2 separate regions of the Homo sapiens genome follow, and region 2 is linked to region 1. Evidence: promoter capture Hi-C in human tissues and cell types (Jung and others, 2019). All regions are on one chromosome and are shown on one strand. The core of a region is centred on a gene start or on the middle of the fragment in contact, and the rest is flanking DNA. Distances in the headings are between cores, read along the strand shown.

What was found. Contacts are between HindIII fragments. The study calls those that stand out against the background at their distance.
Region 2: a contact is called between a fragment that was not itself captured here and the fragment with the promoter of LMX1A in region 1, in 1 of the 25 tissues and cell types used here (H1 embryonic stem cells).

Annotation. Positions count from the first base shown.
Region 1 is chr1:165,351,923-165,359,408 of GRCh38, reverse strand. LMX1A (LIM homeobox transcription factor 1 alpha) reads left to right here and starts at 2,694. Exons shown (of 9, transcript NM_177398.4): 1 at 2,694-3,054; 2 at 3,828-3,925; 3 at 6,147-6,333. The coding sequence starts at 3,850. The HindIII fragment of the contact is 8,258 bases long and covers 1-5,516 here.
Region 2 is chr1:165,301,868-165,309,353 of GRCh38, reverse strand. All of the region lies in intron 3 of LMX1A (LIM homeobox transcription factor 1 alpha), which reads left to right. Among named protein-coding and RNA genes, the nearest start is that of LMX1A, 51 kb to the left of the region's middle. RefSeq lists a cis regulatory region at 4,007 and an enhancer at 3,923-4,092. The HindIII fragment of the contact is 3,381 bases long and covers 2,478-5,858 here.

The DNA of each region.
Region 1 (7,486 bases), core at 1,445-3,944:
ATCTTTTGAGTCCCCTCTGAAGCCTATTCACCTCATTCCCATGTATTCTCAGAGTACTTCTTTTTGATAAAAGGGAGAAGATGGCTGATTCTTCATAAATGGCTTCTGGGCAGTGGCTCTGTGGCATCTTCTTTCATTTAAAAGGTAAAATAAAAGTGTTTGAGTTTAAATCACAAGGAAAAACACGAGGCATGGTTAGGAGGATCTTTCATAGAGGGGTCAGAATGATCCACCTGTGATCGTCTCACCCATCCATGTCACTGAGTTGGATAAGGCCAAACTGAAACAATCCTTGGGTAGGAATGGGATTCATGACTCCTACTTCATTGAAAGAGGGCAAATAAATCACAAAAGAGAAAACTCCGAATAAATAAGTTTTATCTTTATTGGTTTAGACACATCACTTAAACACATCAGCCAAGACTATACCTAGGCAACCACTGCTCAGCACCTCATATGGATCTGTTGGTTCTACTGCCTACCCCACTGGCCAAAGCTACCCCACTGCCTACCCCACTGGACTGGTTTCACAGACTTTAGACTGTGAGGGCCTGACCAACCACATAATGTAGACCCTTCATTCCAGAGAGGTATTGACATCTAAAGAGGTGAACTGATGGCCCAGACCAATTCAGTGGCAAAGCTGGGAATGGAACGGAGGTCCTTTGATTCCTGACCCTTCACTGCAGTGCCTTCTGACTGTAGTGAGAGTTCTATTCATTCCTCAACCAAGTAAAAGGCATTTGTTCATCAATTGTATGTGTCTAGGTCTGCACTAAAAGTGATATGACTTATGATGTGATTTTTGAGGCACCGTCCCCATCCTGAAGTGCCCAATGGCTGGGGAGACATTCTCACCAAAAACCTGTGTGATCTACACTAATCAAGCGGCCTTGTGGGTGGATGTAAGAATTGTTTGAAAGATTTGAGTTTCAGGTCAAATGACAATCTATCTACTTTCAGGATATTCACTAAAAGGAATAGTCTTACCACTAGTTAAAATGTATTTCATATATTTCATATAAGACCTTTAGTGAAACCAAAATTCTGCCGGGTATTTACATAAAAACATTCCTTATGGTTGTATCTGCCCTATTCCATTTTTTTCTTGCTTAACTTCTATTTCACATATTATCCTAATAATACTTGTAGTTTGTATTTTTTTACACCCTGCTCTACCTGGGGTGACAGAAAGGACAGAGGTCAGGTGTTAGGAGACATGCCACTAGCCATCTGGGCAACATCAGGGAAATCTCCCAGCCGTGCTAAGCTCCAAAGATTCATCTGAAACAAAAGATAAAACTGTTCTGCCTACCTCACAGGTTTGCTGTAAAGATCAAGCAAAATCATGTATGTGAAAATGCCTGTAAAGCAGCATTCGAATATAACGTATTAGCCTCTTTGCCATTTCCCCTCTTTCTTCTGGAGTCATATTCAGTGTTTGGCTTGTGCCTGCTGGCAGAAAGCACTTAGAATGGCTTTTTTAGTGCTTAGTGGGGTCGCTGCTCCTAAGCACATTAGAGCAAGTTGCTGCCAGCACTTTTTCTTTAGGAATAAAGAAGTGGCTCTGTCTTTGGAGGAGGTAATAGAAAAACCCTGGCTATGTGGCATCTCCTCTGCCTGAGTTCACCATGTCAAACGGCCTGCCAATTTCATCTCAGTTCAGTTCAGTTTAGGAACTGAAGGTGCCCCAGAGAATCACACTGAATTGAACTGAACCTTCCCATGGTATTCAGATGATGGGACTCGGATTCCATGAATTCCCTTCCATTTCCCTCAACTGTAAGATTGGGACAACAATTGTCTCCACTTCATGGGGGTTGTTGTAAAGATTAAATGAGGTGACTGTGTAACAAAGCTGGCACAAAATAAACGATAAACGCTAGCCAGCATTGTAATTTATTTATTGAGCATCCACTTGGGGTCACACAACATGCTTACCTCCTGGGCTATACAGACGGATAAGGCCTTATTCCTGCTCTGGAGGGGGCTAAAGGTCTGTTATTGTAAATTAAAGTTAGGAGGTGCAGATAATTCACATTTCTCCCCAGATACTTTGTTCCCCTAACAATGTCCCTTTACCTGATTTCCTGTTGAGTGTCATTGCAAGTTCATCATCTGGGGGGCAGATCCCACCTAGTGTCTCCCAAGAGCATGATTCTTAGGCCGTGAGTCCCATGGCCTCTGTACGCCCCATGAGTGAATATGGTTCGACCTTAAAGGAAGTTGGAAACTGGCATGAGCCCTCGGGTGATGAGGGGTTTGAGGAGCTAGGAGCTGCTGGGCCCACATCTACTGGCGCTAAACAGCTTCTCAGCGCTTCCCGGGGCCCGGGTAAGGATTGCAGCGCTTTTATAGCAGCAGTTGGAGAGCGGCGGGGGAATCCTCGTGGCGGCACCGCTGTCCAGGAGGCGCCGACATCTCCGCAAAGGCCCAGTCGGGGTGAGGGGCACTGGGGGGCGACCGGGCCAGAGCGCCCCGAGGTAACAGTTACACGTGGAGGGGAGGAAACTTAGCGTGTCCGAGAGCTCCCAGAGGCGGAGGGGCTCAGAGGGCAGCGGCCGTGTGGTGGCCGCGCAGCCAGGCTGGGAAAGGGAGCACCACGGCCCCGCCACGGGACGCGCTGCCAGCCCCCCGCCCAGCGCACCCCACCCCCTCTCCGCCGCCGCGCACGCAGCGCCGCGGCCCCTGTCAGAAGCTGCAGGATCCGCCCCGGCGAAGCAGGGCCGACTCGCACCCAGGACCCTGGGCCTCTGCCTTCCCTCCTAGCCTTGGAGAAGCAACTGGCCCTCTCCTCCCGCTGAGGAGCGACGCGGGCTGGTAGGACGTCCCGGGAAGGCCGGCAGCTCGCGACCACGTCCCGGCCCAGCCTGGGCGCGCCGAGGAGCAGAGCCAGCGGCCGGCGTTCGCTCCGGCTCCCTCCCCGGCGCTCCGAAGCCGAGGGCGGCTCCTCCGGCTGCAGTCTCGGGGGCGACGCCTTCCCGGGCAGAAGCTTCCAGCAGCGCTCCGCAACTTCTCTCTGCTCCAGTCACTGGGAGAGAGCTCGCCTACCAGGTAAGTAAGGCTGCCCGTGCCTAGGCTGTGGCTCGGGCGGGCGTGTTTCTGAAAGTTGACTTGAAATGCATCCAAGAGTGAGCCGGGCCAGCCGGGGCTCCTCCCCGAGGCGACTCTTTTGCTTCTGCAGACATTCCCGGCACTGGCCGACTGGCGGGAGGACCTCCCCGCGCGCCCCGCACACCGGCTCCTGCGCGCACCCCAACAGAGCGCAGCGCCAGGAGTCCAGAAGCGGGCGGGACGCCCTCCGGGTCCCTTACAGTGCCCCTTCTCGACCTGGGGCAGGTGAGGGCCGCAACGGGGCGGCTGGGACGCGGGATTGCAAACCCCATCGTCCCGCGTGCCTGGACCCGGTCGCTCGAGGGAGGGTACCCACTCTTTATATACCCAATATACCCCAGTAGCTGCGTTCCTGCAGAGACGTCCCGAGGGCCCACCTTCGTATAGGTTGGGGCGGAGTCGGATTCGGGATGGAAAACCTGGGGCAAGGGATGTAGGTGGGGGTGAGGGGGGCAGGAGAAGGAGAAACGCAGTTGGGGGGCGGAGGCCTAAGTACATAACGTGTTGACTTCAAGTGAAATCAGATCAGCCAGAGCAGTTCGCTGTGACTGATCTCTCCTCCCACCCTACATTCTCTTGGCTGGACCCTATCCTCCTGGCTGATTCTGGTCGCCCTGGACACTCCCTCAGTTCTTTCCCAGGAGTGCGGTGGCTGCTGGCGCCGAGTCCCAGCGGGCACGGACGTCAGACGCATCGTTTCTTCTCCTCTACAGGTCCTCCCGGCCCGGCCCGAACATGCTGGACGGCCTAAAGATGGAGGAGAACTTCCAAAGCGCGATCGACACCTCGGCCTCCTTCTCCTCGCTGCTGGGTGAGTGTTCAGGCCGTGCGTCCTGGGCGCACTCTCTTTCCGCTTGGCGCTGAGCTCTGGAGCCCCGCTCTCTGGGACCTGGTCCGCGATAGGGAAGCTAGCGCCCCTCTTCATACACTAAATTGAGCCCCATCACTATCTGTCCGTCAGTGCTTGTGGGTCGTCCCTACCCAAATAAATCCAACAAGCCGCCCCAGGCCTCACGCACTGGGCACCGAATTCCCCAAAGCCGCGAGGGGCGGGCGAGCTTGTTCGTAGGCGTCTGAGTGGCAAGTGATTAAAAATACCCAGGGCTGGATTTTTAATCTCGGAGCTGATCGACGTCTCATAAATGCCGCCCTCTTCTCGCGGCCTAGAGGCAATAGCATCCGAGACCCGAGGCCTGGAGCGCCCAAGTTCGAGGAGGCTTCTCTCCCCCACCAACTCCAGCCCCAATTTCAGCCATGGGCAAGGCCGAGAGAGACTTTTCTGGGCCAGTAGGCAACGCAGCGCGGGGATTAGACCGCGCGGCTGGGCCCTAGGCTCCGCGTTAATTAACTGGAGCTGGATGTCGGGTCCTGTGGGTCCCCCCTCACAACTCCTTTGCAGCGACAGAGGAGGAGCAGCGAGTCAAGGACCCCGGAAGAGTGTCCACACACGGGTCTTGCAGAGCTGAAGCCAGAGATTCTGGTTACGGCTCCCCCACCCACTCTGCCCTTGGAGCTTTTCAAGTTTGGGAAGCCCGTATTTTATTTTATTTTATTTTATTTATTTATTTTTAGCAGGAGGGAGTTTTCCTTCTGTCCTTTAAACCTCTTGCCTCTTTCACTCGGAACCGCTAGAGCGGCATGAATGTGGAGGATGAGACAGTTCTGCTGGAGAAACCAAATCCAGTGAGGAATCTCCCCACCCCCAACACCCTAGATGAAACGAAATCACGTGCACTGAGCGCCCCTCTTTGAACCCCCCTTTCGGGAACTTTTGGACTTGCCCAGCCTCGGAAGAGAGCGGAAGCCAGAGCAGGCAGTACCCGGGCGGGCAGCGGGTGCGGATTTATGTATACAGCGGGCGTCGCTTTTTACTCTGTGTCCTCCGCTCGGCCCACGTTCGCTCTCAACGTGGCCCAGGACGCCGAGACCCTACCGAAAGAAAATAGAATTGTAAAATTGGGATCTATCTCGCTGCTTCTCCTAACCTTCCTCATCCGCTCCCAAAGCGACCGGCCCAGCTCCCGAGCCGGTGGCCGGGCCTCTCGGAAGGGGAGAATGAGAAGAGTGCAGCCGGGAAATGGGGAGCGCAAGAGTGTTGGTACTGGGGGGACAAGGGCAAGAGTGTTGTTGCTGGGGGACAAGGCCTTCTTTAAATAGCTGTGAAAAGTGCCAATATAGGTGGCCAAGCGTCGCCACCTGAACCACCTCTCCGCCCCCCACAAACTAAAGGAACAAAACACAAAGTCCAAGGGGTAGCAAAGAGTGGATTTCCTGCCTCCGCTGAGTCACTTTGAGGCCCGTTTCGCCCTCAAGCACTGCTGCCGAACGCGCCTGGCATCGGGAATCCCGGCCGGGACACTCAGCGGCTTGCTTCTTCCGCTATTTTTTTCCCTCCCTCTGTTTTGACGCTTCTTAGTTATCAAAAACCCATGTGCAATATGCATGCCAGTCAAGACGCAGCAGTTTGGGGTTCATCGGTTTGAATAATATTAGGTTTGCTTCGGAGTGAGACGGTATTTTTCTGTACCCCCAGGACTTTTTAGGAAGAAAAGAGAAAATTTTGTTCCCCCTCAAAAAATAGAACAGAACTCTGCGTTTTAACAAAGAAAAATCCAAATTGTTCTTATGCATTCTCAGTTTTTAAAACAGTCAGTAGAGACAGGCATAGTGATTTAATAATTAATTACGACGTAATAAACCTGAGAGCACAAATTTGTATGTAATTTAATCTTACAGGATGTGCAGACGTTTGCGAGCATACCTGGGTATGTTTGTTAATTAAAGGCCAATTATTGATTTCTATACCCTCCCCCGCTTGGAATTAAACCTTCTCACATAGTCTCCGTTTATTAGAAACGCCACTTGGCTTGATTTTTTCCAGGTTTCAGCTTGGTTGATTAGCAGGAGTTCCCTGGGGTGGGGGGCGCTGGGGGAATCCGTGGATGTGAAGGGATCAGGAGCGGGTCCCGGCCAGGTTTGGCATGGTCTACCTGCCCGGGCTGCTCACCCGCCAACGTCTGTTGTGGCTACAGGCAGAGCGGTGAGCCCCAAGTCTGTCTGCGAGGGCTGTCAGCGGGTCATCTTGGACAGGTTTCTGCTGCGGCTCAACGACAGCTTCTGGCATGAGCAGTGCGTGCAGTGCGCCTCCTGCAAAGAGCCCCTGGAGACCACCTGCTTCTACCGGGACAAGAAGCTGTACTGCAAGTATGACTACGAGAAGTAAGTGGCCGCACCCCCGCAGCGCTCCCCGCGCACTGGCATCAGTGTGCGTCGAGGACTTTGTCCTCCTTTACCCTAGTCCTTTTCTGGAAGGCCCAAGAGACACGCCCAGCGAGCAGAACTTCCCTTCAGCGCAGTCGTGTACATTGCCCCTCACGGGAAGGTGGTAGGGCAGAGATCCGCGCGGGTGCGCGCAGCAGTGGCCCGAGTCCCGCAGAAGTGCGCGCAATGGCTGTCCTCCACGGTCTGCTCGCCTGCTTTCTGGTCCTTCCAGGCCCCTTTCTCTGACTCGGCCGTTTCCAGAGGCCACTCTTTGTTAGCCTTGGAATCCCTCGAGCTTGGTCTCCCTCTTTTACCGGGGTGCCCTGCGGGTTGCCAGTGACCCCGTGTCTCCTTGCTGGTTCTCACCCCATGTTACCCAGGTGTCCGCGCCAGCGTCGCGCCTGTGCCTTGCGGTGAGACTGTATTGACCCCGCAGCTTCTGTCCCCTGTGCCCTGTGCGCGTTTCCCGCTCGGGTTTGTTCGCTGGAGTCCGGACAGTTTGGGCTCGGAAATGGCTCTGCTGCCATTCGGAGCTAAGCGCACAGCCCGTTCGCCCTTTCACTGTCGCCTTCCTGGTTTTCTGCAGAACCCTCGGATGCAGGGGCTTTTAGGACAGTAGTTGGGGCCTGAACTGAAGCCCTCTCCTTCAACCTGTGCCGCCATCCTAGTTCAGGTGTGGGTACGCTCTTCTGCCACGGAGCAAGTTCAGTTCCCTCCTGTCCACATGAACGTTCTGGTACGTTCAGAGGAGAACTGGGAGGCAGGAATTTAAGAAAGTGGATATTTCGAAACTGGATTTTTATAACACTAAAGCCTGGATGAAGCCAGAAAGTGGGAGGTAGAAGAACTTCCTTATTCTCTCCGGGCGTGCCGGGAGGAGCTTAGGAGGTGTAAGGAGAGGGAACGGTTTTTTCCTTGCGAAATGTTTAATTAATAAGTGTATTGGCTTTGCAGGGCTTTGGAGATGATTGAAGAAAAGTGGCTGATCCAGAGGTCTCTGTTTTTGTGCATTAGGACTGGTGTAGGTTGACTGTGTGGACGCGCGCGTGCACGCGCAGAATTCTGCATTTGTCACTGGTGAATGAAAGGGACAGCATTACATGAAGATAAT
Region 2 (7,486 bases), core at 2,919-5,418, 52 kb after region 1:
GCAGAGGTGCCTTCCCTGCCAGGTTTTTGTTATTAAAGTTGATCCCATGTATCAGAAAATGGAAAGCAAGACTTGGAAATCAGCATCCAAGTGGGATTCCAGGCTCTCTGTAGCAGCGTGTGCCAAGGGCTGGGGGTGGGGAGCGTGCAGCAAGCTCTTCGCTCAGCATCCAGGAGCGAGCCCTCAGCATCATTCACTCTGTCAGGGTATCTCGGTGGTAATCACTTCCAAATGGTGGCAGGGCGGGGAGGGGGCTCCCCTCCAATCACCCAAGGAATGTCTTGACTCAGGACAGAAAGGGAGGTTTTCCATAAGCATCTCTTCTTTCCAAAGGGGACTGGAGATAGAATATGAGACACCCATGAGCCTTTCTTAGCATCATCTATAATAATATTCAGGTCAACAAAACAGAGGGGGAAGGACCAATAACCCAGGATTGTGTCAGGTCCCATTGGCTAACCTGGGAGGTGCTTTCAAGATGAGCAGATCACCCCTCCAGATGACACATGACTTCTCAAGTGTCTTCTGAGGCAGAGACTGGGAGTGGATGCACTGGCACAGATTCTGTCTCTAAATTAATAGGCCCAGGAAAAGTCACTCATTACACTCACATAGACCCAAGCTGTGGAATGTAATGCAAGGGAGTAAAAAGCCACAAGTCCAGGGGACCAATCAAGTCACTTAATCTTTCAGAGCCTCAATTTTCTTGCCTGTAAAGTGGGGATTATAATGTTTGTTTTATAGAATCGTTGTGAGGACTAAATGATACAACTTTGAGAAAGTGCGAATCACCAAGTACGTGCTCAGTACTGTTTTAAAAAATTATATTAAAGAGATTCAATGTCTTTCCTATCATGTTACCTTAGGGACTTTGCTTTCTTCAGTTCTTAGCAGACACTTTGCAGAATCATGGAATCACATACACATGGTATCTAAAATGTATATAGAGCCTTATTGAATTCAGAATGATTCTGTCTGTTTCTTGCTGCAATTCTTACCATTTCCATTTGCACTGGAGGAACCTGAGTAAGGCTGGTGTGACTTGGCCACAAAGCTTGTATGGAAGGTGTTATCGGCTCTCCTCCCTGGCATCTGGTTCTCAGAGGGCTAACTGTGGTTCCTTGGTGTCCAGCGAGTATTCCCCAGTGGTCCAGGGACCAGCCTCCTGTCCTGTGGATATGTTGAATACGATAGCATCAGTGTATCTCTTTCAGTCTTGGACTAATAATTTCCTTATGAAAATATTGACTGATTTTTCCTCAAAACTATTTATTTAATGTGTGATTCCTTCCCTTCTTTTTTTCTTCTTATGTTGTCAAGCAAGTTCCAGAAGCCCTTCTCTGGCTGCTTGACCTCCTGAAATTGTTCTGACTCAACATTTATGGAACCAAGGAGGAAGGGGGAGGAGCATTTGTAGCCATGGTTGGTGGCCTTCACACAGTCTTTTTAAAAATAAAGTTAAAATTTAAAATGTGTTGTTGTTCAGGAACTGTTTTTCATTTAAATTCTGAGTCTAAATGCCAGTCTAAATACATATGGTCAAGTGACGGTCATGCTAATAACTCATTGTACTTTTCCTTGGTCCTTCTACCTGTGGTCCAGGCTCCTATGGATGAAAATTCCCTGGAGGTATGTGCAGAATGCCAGGACCAGCTGACGTGGGTAGGGGTTAGTTGCAAACTCACATGGATCTGTTGTAAGGGTATTGAGGGTTGGAGGTTATGGGAGTGAATCTACTACAATCTCAGCACATATGTATAGCATGTATGCACTGCACACCTCCCAGAATCCCTTCTAGGCATAGCATAATCTTGGGGAGGGGATCCTGATGCTCTTCTTCATTCTGCCTGTGGCATAGGCCCCTTTGTAACTAAGAACTATCCCAAGTTGTACTGTGGCCTTGGGCTTACTCAAACCAGCTCATTTTTTTCTACCTATCTGGCACCTTGGCTATCCAGAATGCTTGTGGAATGTCATCAACCATGTTTTCTGGATAGCAAATATTTATAAGTTTTAAGCCTTTCTGGAACTGGATTTGGTAATATTTGATGGACAGAGCTGTGAAGGCCAATGATGTAATATAGAGTGATTCACACTAAAGTTGTAGTTGCGCTCCCACTTTCTTTTTCTCTTTCTCCCTTTATCTTTCCTCTCACTTTCTTCCCACTTCTAGAGCTGTGCCCTGGCAATCCTTCCTGTATTGGTCAGCACAAAGAGTTTCCTGCCATTTGTTTCACTGTCATTTCTGGAAAAAGAAGGGAAGTTTGGCCTGCTTTGCCTGCACTGCCTGATTCCCTTGCATGAAGCCACAGGGAATTCTCATTACCACTGCCCATATGCACAGACGCAGCCTCTGGCTTCTGCCCGAGAGGACATGGGGAGAGTTGCTGCCAGCAGCTCAGGCTGAGCCCCTCTCCTGCTGACCGCTTCACTCTATGTGCTGCCTGGGCAGGGGGAGGCGGAGGAGGGTGGTATGGCGCACACAGCTTTCAACAAGGACTGGAGAGTGGAAATCCTACTGATGGTGGGAAGTCAGGCAGAGGCAGCCAAACCACTAGCCATCTCATCTCTGGGAGGTACCAGGCACTGTGTATTCTGGATATATTGTGGTGTGAGTGCCACCAACAGGCTGTTGGGGATATTCAGAGCCCATCCTGTGCTGACTACATTTGGGAAGGAGCCATCACTGTGTTATACAGGAAAATACAGAAAGAGCAAACTAGCAATCAAGTTGAGCTTTTCTGAGAGTGTATTGGTTAGCTATAGCTACAGGACTGTTGCATAACAAAGCATCCTAGAACTAAAGACTTAAAAAAGCCAAACACTTATTCTCACCCTTGGGTCTCTGGGTGGGCAGGGGCAACTTTGTTTCAGACTATGGGTCACCTGGACTTACCCAGGCTTCAGGCGGGGTCCAGGTATTGTTCCACATTCTTTTTGGATCAAGAGCCACTTAGATGTGTTCTCATGGAGAATGACAGAAGCCAAACCACACACTCACATTTACTCACATTCCACTGCCCAAACAAGTCATATGGTGAACCCAACCTAAGTGGAAGAGGGAAATTTATATCCAAAGGGAGGGGCAACAGGAGAGTGACTATTTATTAAGTGATAATCTAAAATATCACACAAGGTTACACATCTACAATTTCCATTAACCTGAGCTCTGGAGACTAGATGAACAGGTGGGAGGAAGAAGGTTGGAGGAGTAAAGGATGTCTGATGGGTGGGTATGAATTTAGTGTGGGGAGAGCTTAGGGATACAGGTTCAGACAGGAGCTGGGCAATGAGAAAGCTGACTTTTTCTGTACGCACGTCTGGGACATGGTTTTCACAAATGACGTTCATGCTAGTAACGCATTGTACTTCTCCTTGGTCCTTCCTCCTGTGGTCCGGGCTCCTATGGATGGAAATTCTCTGGAGGTGTGTGCAGAATGTCAGGACCAGGGCTGTGCTCGTTTTGCATGTGCTATGGCTCTTGGTTGGTCACTCCTTGGCTCACTCACCATATCATATCTCATTGGCCCTAACTCTGGAGTCTTGGTACTTAACCTGCTGTGGTTTTCAAAGAACTGTGAATGTGGGCTGTGTGCCCATGAGTGAGACCAATAATAAAGATAAAAAGAAGCCAGATTCAAGTTGGATACTGCCAGTACTTTTGTCAGATTTCTGTATCTCTGTGTTTCTTTGGAGCAACTGATGGATATCCAATTTGACGTTTTCACTGTGGAATGTGTAGTTAGCTAAGCTCTGCCCAGGAGCTGTGTCAGAAAGGACAGTGGTTGTAGGGACTCCTCTGCTTCATGATACTTAGCCCCTCTTCTTGCTTTGGCCCTGAGTGGAGAGGTTTATTTTAAAATGTGATATTTGGCCTACTGGGTCCTTTCATACTTAAGCTTCAAGATTCTCTGCTTGATGTCTTTGTTCCCTCTCACGCTTGCTTTCTAGAACATTCCATCCCAGATGGTGTTATATGTCATAAGTTTGTCTCCCTTCATCTCTCTTTCCTCTCCCCTTTGCTCAGTCATAAATTTCCAGTGGAGGGGCCCTTTCTCCAGGATCCTGCCACTGCTGGGTGGCAATATGTGTCGACGAGTCCATCGACCCCATTACCTGGGAAGTGTGCTATTTAGCTAAATTACCGCTACCTGTTGACTAGTCCAACTGCACATGTCTCTCACCTTCCTTTCTGTGTTTCCTTTCACTAGCACCTACTATGTGCTGGGCACCTGAGACACACAGACATACACACGCAAGAGAGACAGACACACTCCTTGATCTCAGGGAGGGGGCACTCTCTAGAGGGCCCAAGAGACAAGGAATAGAGATCCTTATAATGCAAAGTGGTAAGTGTAGAGTGATGAAACAATGTGCAGGTTATAACTGGAGCATGAGGTAGATGCACCCAGCCTGCTGTGGGGCAGGTGGTGGGGGAAGGTGCATGACAGGTGTCTGGAAGGAGATGATGCCTGAGCAGATTTGGCAGACGAGGAGAGGGGAAGTTTTCCAGGCTGATGGGACAATCTGAGTAAAGGCACCAGACAAGGAAGAGGATGCCAGGCACCAGGGAGAAAAAAGAAGTTCAGCATTGCTAGATTATGAAGGTCCAGACAGGGACTAGCAGGTGATGAGGCAGGGAAGGGCAACGAGGGTCAGATCATGGAGATCCTTGGATATCATGGAAGGGACTTGGGTTTAGGGATCTTTGAAAAGCTTGAAGCAGGGGAATGACATGGTAAGATTTGCATTGTGTTTATATAAGAACATTAACCATGTGCAGTTAATTCTTAATTATCTGGGTCGAGGGAGTAGAAATAAGTAGAAATGAGCAGACCCAATCATAACTGATTTTCATCTTTGACTGTATATCCAAACCAGTCCTGCATGCTCCTGATGACCAAGTTTAGAAGTGGCATATCTTGGGTGACATAGTCCCCAAACAGGAAATGTGTTGTTTATATAAATAATTGAGAGAAGCCTGAACCAACTCTCATGGTTATTGAGTTCCTTTTTCTTTCTGAGACTGGACTACAATCTTGGAGGACAAGATATTTTTGGGGTGGGAGAGGCTAAAGTTTATATGACACTTGCCCTAAGCCAGGCACATACCATGGGCTTTCTGATCCCATGAGATGGGCTCTATTATTGTTCCCACTTTATAGATGAGGAAACCGAGGCCTGGAGAGGTTAAGTAACTTTCCCAGGGTTACCCTATTAGTAAAGAGTGGAGCCTGGCTTCACCACCTCCATTCTGATCACCTCCAGAACTGAGGATCAGTAGAACCAGTAGAACTGAGGATTAAACCAATGTGTAATGTAGTGACCACCGTGACCCTTTCCTTTCTCAGGCCCAGGGTTTGTGCACCTTAGATGAAGGGTGTAATAAACTTTGCAATTTAAGAAAACAACAATCTCTGGCGTGGGGTAATCCCACCCATATACTAGATATAATATCTGCGTGGAAGATATGGAAAGCTTTATACTCTGTTCCTACTGCTTTAAAGTCCACCCCAGCCTCCACAGCTTGGAATGAGGCTGTTTAGAAAAATAATTGTTAGAGCAGAGGGGTCTTAGGATCTAGCAGGAGGCTGACTCTGGGGGAAGTGGCTTCCTTCCTGGTCTTACCTTGGCCCTTTACATTCCTGTCCAGTACCCGCCTACTTCCCATCATGCTTTGCGTCCCTGGGACCCAGAGGGCTGGTGGTCTGAGTGAAGGATAACTGACTGCAGGCGTAGGCGATGTCTGGAGGAACAAGTCATTGGGCTGCCGAAGCCAAGTCCGTGACCAGCACAATCCCAGGAGGGCCAGCAGTTTGTGGTTACTTGGCCACTCTTCCAGCTGAGGAATGTACTTCCCCCTTCTCATCTGTCTTGTGCTTTTGTAAATTTTGACGAGGATCAATGAACAACCCAAAGCACCAGAGTGGGTACAAGGTCAGCCAACCATGAAGCGTTCCCAGCCCCCAGCACATTGGGAAGAAGTAAGATGCCACTTCTGAGCCATAAAGGAGATGATCACTTTTGTGGATAAATGCAGCAGAAACACTGTGGGCTATGGAATGGTGGAAGCACAGGGAGCAGGTCCCAGATTTACCTTAAGGTTCAGGAGCATCTTGGAGTTCTCTGACTGTTTTGTGTGGTAATTTTGGCACACAAGGAGCGTTCTCACTAGCTCAACATTCCTGGTTTTGGACCAAGATGCATGAAAATTATACATTATCTTTCTCCTCAAAGCTTGAAAAGTCTTGAGTGTTTCATTATGATTATTTATACTCTATCCTTCCAAAGAAGATTTGAAGCAATTTATAATGAAGACAAAGATATAATAAGATGATTGTAAAAAGAATAGAAGAATAACAGCAAAGTAATGAAGGGAGTAGTGTGGAGCAAGAAGTGTTCCAAACAACATAGGCTAAGGGGATCATTTCAGTTAAGCACATGAAACCTAGTTCTGAGCTTCCTAGAAGCTGGGAGGAAAATCAACTATGCTGAGTTACAGGAGGCTACATTTCTAGCAACTGGTAGCCTCCTCACATACCTAGAGAGAAAAACCTAACCCTGGCACTTTTCTCTAAGGAGGAGGAAACATAAGGATGATTGTCCTAGGGTCATTGAGCAATTAGACAGCAATAAAAATGACCTTACCAAAAATTCAGTGGTAGTGCTGTGTCATTCGTCTTCATTATGGCCAGGTGAAGTAAAAGTGATTGTTTAGGCACAGATGGTTTTGATGGATAGAAGTGGAAACTGAAGGCAAGGACATGGATCGTCATTGCAAAGGGTAGTGAATGAGTGAGGAGGAAGATTTTGAACAGAAGCAATGTCAGCATCACCAGCCACATCTCAGAACATTCTCTGCTTTCTTTTCTTTTCTTTCTTTTTTTTCCTTTATTTTATTTTATTTTTTTTGATGGAGTCTCACTCTGTTGCCCAGGCTGGAGTACAGTGGTGTGATCTTGGCTTACTGCAACCTCCATCTCCTGGGTTCAAGCAACTCTCCTGCCTCAGCCACCTGAGTAGCTGGGATTACACGCATGCACCACAACACCCGGCTAATTTTTGTATTTTTAGTAGAGATGGGGTTTCTCCATGTTGGCGAGGCTGGTCTTGAACTCCTGACCTCAGGTGATCCACCCCGCCCCCCACCGGCCTCCCAATGTTCTGAGATTACAGGTGTGAGCCACCACACCCAGCCTCATTCTCTTCTTTCACTAGTACAGAGGGAGGGAAAGCAGAAAAGGGGGTTTGGGAGACTTGGTTTCTTATTGTCTCTGCTGTTTTGAGTGTCTGTCTGTGTGAACTTGGGGAAGTCACTTAATTGTGGTTGAGCAAAATTCAGGCCTTACAGTTTCTTCCTCTGTAAAACAAGAAGACGAATGATGTTTTGAAGATCCCTTTGTACTCCAGCATTCTATGAGTTGATATTCCCCCCACCCCCAACCAATAGCTATAAACTTAAGTGGAACCAAGTGAAATAAGTCAT